Linked DNA regions of Homo sapiens: region 2 is linked to region 1. Evidence: promoter capture Hi-C in human tissues and cell types (Jung and others, 2019). All regions are on one chromosome and are shown on one strand. The core of a region is centred on a gene start or on the middle of the fragment in contact, and the rest is flanking DNA. Distances in the headings are between cores, read along the strand shown. Region 1 holds the start of MAL (mal, T cell differentiation protein (MAL blood group)). Region 2 overlaps LOC442028 (a long non-coding RNA gene).

Region 1 (4,057 bases), core at 647-3,146:
GAGAACTGAGAGGCTTGGGGTCAGCTTTCTCCTCTTCTCTCCCAGGCACCTGCGAGCCCACCCCTAATCTAGAGCATGTGGAAGATGCCTGGAGATGACTATGCATTGCGGGTCTCCTGGGAAGTGAGGAAGGGAGGTGGGGAACAGGGGTGAGGTGGAGAAGTGACTTTCTAAGTCAGCTGAGAGAAGCGTTCTGGGCGAGGGGGAGTTGTTTCTTCTGGAAGCCCCGCTACCGGCAGGCCACAAAGCCACGCTGGAAGAGCAAGCTGCCAGTAGTAGATGGTTCCAAGGTTTCCCACGCCCCTGTAATTTCTGCAGCATTGGCGGGTTGGGTGGGAGTCTCCGGTCACCTTTCCCGCAGATCAGATCGCCCCGTCTAACTGGACTGTTCCTACTCTCAGGGGCACTCCTTCTTGTATGCTGAACTTCTAAAAGGAGGCCAGCGGGGGGCTGGCTCTCTGTAAACGGTGGGGCTGCGTTCATTGGCGTCCAGGGTTTCTTCTAAATGTAACTGCTTTGATTCCGCCTATCCCTAGGATTTCAAGTCACCGGTTCCACCCAGGTTTGGGTTCGACTGGACTTTCACCCTAAGTTCAATGGTAGCCCTGCTCCCAGGCCGCCGCAGCCCTCTTAGCCTCTGCCCGCAAGCCCTCTTTGGATGAACTGACCTGCTCCCTTTGGTATTCACACCCTCCCCCTCCAATCAGGCAATAACAACCTGGGGTCCAATTTTTAAACAGCCAGGCTCCGACATTTTCTTTCCCGCCCAACTCTCCACGCTGACACTTCTGAGGGTGGGGTGCCGGAAAAGGTGTCCCTCAGGCGGTGACGGACCGCACCCACAGGACATACAGGGCACACCCCTCCCAGGTGAAGGCCAGCGGCCCCCGGGGAGTTGAGGCTGAGGGAGGTCACTTCGGCTTCGCGACACCGTGAGCGCTTATCAGGAGTTCTCAGTAGGAAGCGCTTTCCTGCAGCCTCAGGCAGAGACCGTGCGTGCAAGGCGGGACCGACCGCAGGTGCAGAGGCCCCGGGCCTGCCCAAGGTCAGTCGAGGCGCGCGGATCGCTCTCGCCGCCACCCCCCACCCCCCACCCCCCATCTCCTCCACCCCCACCCCGCACACGGGGCAGAAGGACTGCGGCCAAGCAAACGATGGCCTCATTTCCAGATCGAATTGGTCGCAAATACGTTCCCTCGCCAGAAACTTTAAAAGGCCAGAAGAAAATAAACCGGATTCAGCTCCCTCTCATCTCCAAATCTCGGTTGGTAATACTAATGTTTCTCTTGCTGATTTTTTTTTCTTTTTTAACGAAACCTTCTCCCTTGTAAAAGCTGCGCACTTCTACCCAACCGCGCAAAGCGCGGCGGGAGCTTCGGTGGCGCTGCGCGCGTCAAGTGGGCCCCGCGCGCAGCTTTGGGACCAGCGAACCAAGAGCCGTCCCCCCCTGCCCCGCTGCCTACATCTGACCCCAGTTGGGAACCCAGTTTTTCCTCCATAGTCCTGTAGACTGTTCCCCTCATTCTGTTGGTCTAGAAGGGCACAAAGGACCGGAGGTGGGAGGGGACTTCCCTGGCTTAGTCCCCGCCCTGCGCCTGCTGCCCCGATGCTCCCAGAACCTGCGCAGCTAGCGGATCCCGTCCGACAGCTGTGCTGGGCGCCCGAGAGAGCGCACGGCTCAGCCCACCCCGTCCCTTCCCCGGCCAGGAGCCACTCACAAACTCAAAGATGAAGAGCAAGTCGGGCAAGGTGGTGAAGACCGAGAAGCCACTGGGCAGGGTGCTGCCCCCCGTCGCCGCTGCGGGGGCCATGACGGCGTGCTGGCGTCGGCCTTGGGACGGGACGAGCGCCGCTCAGACTCCGCGCAGACCTCTCGCTGGCTCCGCGGAGCCCAGTGGCCTGGGCGCCCCCGCGCGCGGGTTAAGAGCAGGGGAGCCCGGGGCAGAAGAGGGAGGAGCCCCGGCCGCCGCCCAACCCCGCCCCCCGCCCCACGCCCCGGGAGACCCGGCCCGAGCGCCGCGGGCACCGCCCTGAACCTCTTCGAGGCCCCGCTGCGGGCGTCCAGAGCTGGGGACTGTGGGTCTGACTCCTGCGTTCCAGCCGTGGGTGCCACCTCTTGCGGGAAGCAGGGCAAAACCACTTTGGTCAGGCGCTCCTCGTGCCTTTCTCCCTTCGTAGGTGACCAGCATCTCGTAAGAATGATAACCATCAGTAACCGGGACCCCAAACCTTCTCATCAAGGCACCTCTCGGGTCACCATTACTTTAACTTTGAATTTGGGTCTCCTTCATTTTTCCGCTGGATGCGTTAATGTGCGCGACCCACAGCTCCAGGCGGCGGTTTCCTGGCGGAACTGGACCACCGCCACAGGCTGGGGGTCTGCAGTGGGGGATGGGACCGGCCGCGGCCGCCGGCCCCTTCCGCGTCCACTGAGCCGGCGCTGGTTCGGCGCTGGGATCCTGCACCGGGCCTCTCTGCTTGGTGCTGCGCGTCTGCCTGAGAGTAGGAGGTTGCTCCCAGCTGTGCCGGCCCCAGCAGAAGGCTGCTGGTGGTGGTGCTGGGGCAGGTCGGCCTTGAATCCATGCGACAGGAAGGGACGTTACCAGAAGAGATTCATCGCTTTCTCTTGGTCTGGGCAGCCCGGGCCTTTTGAGGGTGGGACCGCTGCTACCCCCACCCCCAGGTTCTTTGCCTGCCTGTTGACTGCCGGTGTTTCATGTTTTGTTTCTCTGTTTCACTATTTTTTATTTTTTGCCTTAAAAAAAAAAGTATTACCATGCAGCAGTTGCCCATTTATTTTAATTTACTATTAATAGTGTGATTGCTGTGTTTCCTCCTACAAACACTGAAGCCTGAAATCCGCCCGAGTCCGGATTCTCGCCTGCCAAAAGGGAATTGGCCCCGCAACCTCCAGCTTAGACTCCCAACTCTTCTTTCTTTCCATTGGCAGCTGCTGCAGGCAGGACAAGGGGCTCCCCTTCTCTCCAGTGGGGCCTTCACCTCTCCCTGCTGCACAATTCTTCCTCCTTCCCAGTCCCTAGGGAGAGAAGTATATTCGTGGACGCATTTTCCAAAGCAAAAGTAGCACGCCCATCAGCTGGCCATTCTAAGTGCCTCTGGAAAGGGGCCAGGCATTTGAAATGAGAAAACCCCACTGTGCCTCTGTGAGCTGCCAGCCCGGACGGCTGCAACCAAGGTGCCATTGTGTCGGGTCCCCAGGGCAGCATCTCTCTGGACACAATGGGCTGTGGGACTTTAGGAGCCCAGGTCCTCATCCACCTTGGGCATCTCATAGCTCGTTAGTTGGACCTGCTGGCCTCTGAGAGGACATCTTCTTCCTCCCCAGGAGACCGTCCTGGGAACAAGCCTTAAAGCAAGGTGGCCACAGGAAGCCGCAGCCTGAAGAGAGGTGAGATGACCCTCAGGCAGTCCAGCGAAAGCTGCTTGGAGATTTCCTATCAGCACATACTAATTAAGAACAAGAAGATCCTATCAACTCCTAATAATGTCCTTACCTGGCCTGGAGGGCTTTTGTTTGTGGTTTGGTTTGGTGATTTCCTACTTATTTCAAGCCTTTGTTGCTAACTCATTCCTACTTGGGCCTGAGCCTTTGGGGAAAGCTCGCTCCCAGGGGCAACTCAGTGGAGCTCAGCAGTCCCAGCCCTCCTTTGATAAGGCAGAGGGGCAGCAATCTCTGAAAGAGGCTTCAGAGGATGAGGAAGGCAGCCCGGCCAGGGTCAAGGGGGTTTGTCCCTATCTCTGTGACCCCCTCCTCCCACCTGGAGTTCTCCGCTCGACGTTCATCTTCCTGACCAGACTCTACCCTCGGCAGGGCATCCTCCAGCCACCCCCATCTGCCCCTCTCCTTCCCCACCCTAGCATATGCTCAGCACCCAAGCAGAGCCCAGCCTCTGGTGAGTGCTCATTAAACCTTAGCCAATGGTGGATGACTCCAGCTTTGTCTGTGCTTGACCACCAGAGGAGGACATGGAAGTGCCCTGTTTGGATGTAAGAAGCACTGGTGAGGAGTGAGGCACTGGTAATAGAGAGACATTGG
Region 2 (4,057 bases), core at 830-3,329, 86 kb after region 1:
TGTCTTTGATTTTCCTTCTCTCCTCTAAGCTATTGCTTTTGGAAGGGGCGCCTGGATCTCCCTCCTGTTTACTTGGGGGCAAACACATAGTATCATGGGGTTTTGAAGACATGTTGCCTGCGCCAGATAGCAACACTGGCTGTAGTTCTGAAAATATTAGCGTTTTTGTCCTGTGATTAATACTAAGATGTAAATAAAGTGGTTTTAGATAATTGTAGCAAATGATCCAGATATAACTGTGTGTTTTAGATCATTGTAGCCAATTATTTAGATACAACTCGGTGAGTACTTTTTAATTAAGAGCTCAAGATTTCTACACAGTATGTTCATTGTCTGCTTTATTTGTGGAAACATGAAACCTGATACTGGGTGAGGTAAGAAAATGGGTAGGTTTTACTATCACAAGGAAAAGGTAATATCCATACACTTTTGCCAAGGAGGCATGGATTAGTTAAATTGGCTTCTGGATCTTTGAGTTTGGGTATGATAGCCTTACGTTGAATTTTTTGGTTACTGCTTGATAATATTTATTTTAGTAATTGATTGTGTGTGTTAATGAACACTCCTGTCCTAAAAGCAAAAATGAAGTGGTTCAAGGGAGCATGAATTGTTAACATCTCCTTTAAACAAATAGGCTAGGTTAAAATTTCTTTACAGAGCTTTATGGTATTACATGTGACTTTATTACACTATTACATGTCAACAAAAATGGCAGAAGCTCTCTTAACTGACTTGCCAGATGTATTAGCTCTCTCCATTCACTCAATAAAATGTCCATTTTATTGAGTTTTAATCCATTCGGAATCAATTTAGAAATACTATCTTATTTAATCTGTACCCTGTTTAAGCTGGCGACTGGATTATAAGAGTATGTGTATTAAATATTTTAGAAGGATAGGTTCTTTTAAATAAATAAAAATTATCACACAGGATGTCTTAAACTTTTTAAAAAGAGATCTGATTTTAGATTTTGTTAAAATACTAGCCTACATAAGTATTCTTTTTATGAAATAAATACTCATATAAACTGTTTTTCCAGAAATTGACCCTGAATAGAGATTTCAGATCGTTGAAAACGGAACCATTTGAAAACTGCATTTCCTTTTCCTAATTTATTTCAGTTACTCAATAGGATTTTCTCATGGAATTAACTTTTCTCTCAGCGTAGTTACATAAGCTTACTCTTGTAATCATGAAAAATAATTACCCATTTCAGCACTTACTAACGTGGACTTTACTTGAAGGGTCTCTGGTTTTAAAGTTAGAGCACATGACTAGAGGCAGATGAAGAGTACCTCATCATTCATGGCCACTGAGTCTCTATAATTTTTAAATGCCTTTGGAAAGCTAGATCTTATACTCAAAAGCATGCTTTTGTGTTAGAAATCTTTTAGTGAACTACTTACTCGGGTGATAATGCTTTTAAAGCCCTGCTTTTCTCAGAATAAACTGAATTACGTGTTACCAATAACAATGCCACATCATTTCAAAGGAAACTGAATTAAGTAATCCAAGTCCAGGTTGCTGAAAACTAGATGACACAGGGTAGGCACTGTTTTGGTTACCATGCCAAGGATCTCTATTAGTCAGCTTGGGCTGCCATAATAAAATACCATAGAACTGGGTGGCTTAAACAACAGAAACTTATTTTCTCACGGTTCTGGAGGCTAGAAGCTGCAGATCAGGGTGCTGCTGGTTCGGTTCCTGATGAGGGCTTTCTTCCTGGCTTATAGGTTTGCTAACATCTTGTCCTCATGTGGCAGAGTGAGAGTACCGTAGTCTCACCTTCTCTTCTTAAAATGACACCAGTTCTATCAGATTAGAGTCCCACCCCTATGACCTTATTTAACTGTTACTACCTTCTCACAGGCCCTGTCTCCAAATTTAGCTACATTAGGGTTTAAAGATTCAATATGTAAATTTTGAGAGGGCACAAACATTCAATCCATAAAAGAATCTAGTATAATTAACAAGGATTGTTGAGCCCTGATATCTTGTTATACCTGCCTGTGTCCCTTCCCCCATTCCCCTCCACTCTAATTTCCTCACAAACACTCAGATGATTTTTTTCAGATACTGTTTTTGTTACTTACCAAACTAGTAACATTATGAATTATAAATGTTATTAGCCATTGACTGCACTGACTGACCACAGTTGACTGGGAGGGCTAGATGGTGCATGGTGCCTTCTTTGTGGTGGAAGATATAGGTTGGAGAAATGTGGTTGGTAGCAAATGCTGTCTGGTTTGAACAGCTTTGGAGAAGTCTGGTTCTAGTTGGTTTCAGTTCTCTCCAGATGCCGTTTGAATCTAAACGAATTTTCTAGTTCTTATCATTACAGAATTGTCTTCTGGAACAATTATTTCTTTTTATTATGTGGTAGCAATATGGATGTAGTTTTGTGAATCATTAAGGCATTTTAAGTCATCTTCCACTCTCTTTTATTTTTCAACTCTTTTAGGTTGTTTGAGGGACGTTCATCAAGGAAACCAGATAAACTTAAAACGCTCCTCTGCTTCTTTAGAACAGTCACAGAGAAAAGTAAACTCCTTTCATTCTTACCGTAATTTTTCTTGATGATGGGAACAGTTCAAGTCAAGTGACATGTGAGGAACATTTTGTGTTTAACGTAAACCTTCCTCTCCCAACCACATTGAAACAGTAGTAATGATGCGACAAGATAACCTAGATTTTATGCTTATGTTGTGTATAAGCATAAATGTGTGCTATAAATGTAAGGGGACGGGGTTTACATACTCTGAAATTGGACCCATATTCTCTGAAATCTGTAGTATACATCAAAAGATTTTCATGAATAAAAACCAGAGAAAGTATATTGACCAGGAAATAAATTTTGGATGCTCTTTACTTAAAGAAACGTTCAGTAGTTTATTTGCATAAGTCAACTGACACGTTGCTTTTCTACCCATTCCTCTCTTTTGTGCCCCCCTAAGCCCTTTGTGGAGCTCTTATAAAAACTTTTGTACTGAGTTTTGTATCTCCTTCTTCCTCTATTGAACTTTAACATTCTTGCTTCCCCAAAACCCGATAGCAGCTGAGACAGTAATAGTAAATGTCCAACAAATACTGGTAATGACCAGCTGATAATAGATTGGTATTGCCACTCTTATCTCAGAAGCTGAATGACCATGGTCAAGTTTCTTGACACCTCTAAGCTTCAGTTTTATCATCTATGAAATAATATACTAATGGCCATTACCTTACAGGGTAGTTATAGATATTAAGAAGATACATGCTTAATAAATGTAAGCTATTGTCAATTGGTAGCCTTTCCTACAAGTGGATGTAAACCAGAACACCTCAAAAGTTTCTTTGTGCTAAGTAGGTAATGTCAACCTGGTCAAGTGAAATGGCTTTTTTTCAGTTCTGGGTTGTAGGATTGTCTGAAAACATGTCTTTGAATAATTTTAAGGTCATTTTTCTCATATCCTTCTTTTACTCTTGCATTACAATGTACTTGGCATCTTCTCCTTTGAATGTATTGCTATTGGACATTGTTAAATTTTTAGAATGAAATCAATTATCAAGATTTTGATATTTAAGGGAAAATTATATGCTTCTTTGATATGGAATTATTTATCTCATAGCTTATTGAATTTCAGTTTTGTGTCCTGTGCTGAATGAAATATTAAAATGCAGAATCATTTGGACCTCTGAGACACAAAATCAAATTAGAATTTGTAATGACTTGTTAAAAAGATGACTACGTAAGGCCAGGTGTTGGTGGATCACGAGGTCAGGAGTTCCAGACCAGCCTGGTCAAGATGGTGAAACCCCGTCTCTACTAAATACAAAAATTAGCCAGGTGCGGTGGCGGAGCCTGTAATCCCAGCTACTCAGGAGGTTGAGGCACAAGAATCACTTGAACCCGGGAAGCAGAGGTTGCAATGAGCTGAGATTGTGCCACTGCACTCTAGCCTGGGTGATAGAGCAAGATTCTGTCTAAAAAAAAAAAAATGACTACTTTTTTTGGCTATTCTAGGTCTAGTTAGAATTATTACTATTGGTCTTTTTTGTTTGTTTTTTACAGTACTTT

The links. Contacts are between HindIII fragments. The study calls those that stand out against the background at their distance.
Region 2: a contact is called between a fragment that was not itself captured here and the fragment with the promoter of MAL in region 1, in 2 of the 25 tissues and cell types used here (aorta and stomach).

Annotation. Positions count from the first base shown.
Region 1 is chr2:95,023,547-95,027,603 of GRCh38, reverse strand. It overlaps MAL (mal, T cell differentiation protein (MAL blood group)), which reads right to left and starts at 1,896. Exons shown (of 4, transcript NM_002371.4): 1 at 1,719-1,896. The coding sequence starts at 1,811. It overlaps MAL-AS1 (MAL antisense RNA 1), which reads left to right and starts at 575. Exons shown (of 8, transcript XR_007087136.1): 1 at 575-1,045; 2 at 1,171-1,264; 3 at 3,347-3,409. RefSeq lists an enhancer at 789-1,512 and a silencer at 1,867-1,996. The HindIII fragment of the contact is 10,437 bases long and covers 1-4,057 here.
Region 2 is chr2:94,937,865-94,941,921 of GRCh38, reverse strand. The region is part of intron 1 of LOC442028 (a long non-coding RNA gene); the gene reads left to right. Among named protein-coding and RNA genes, the nearest start is that of TEKT4, 68 kb to the right of the region's middle. The HindIII fragment of the contact is 5,057 bases long and covers 1-4,057 here.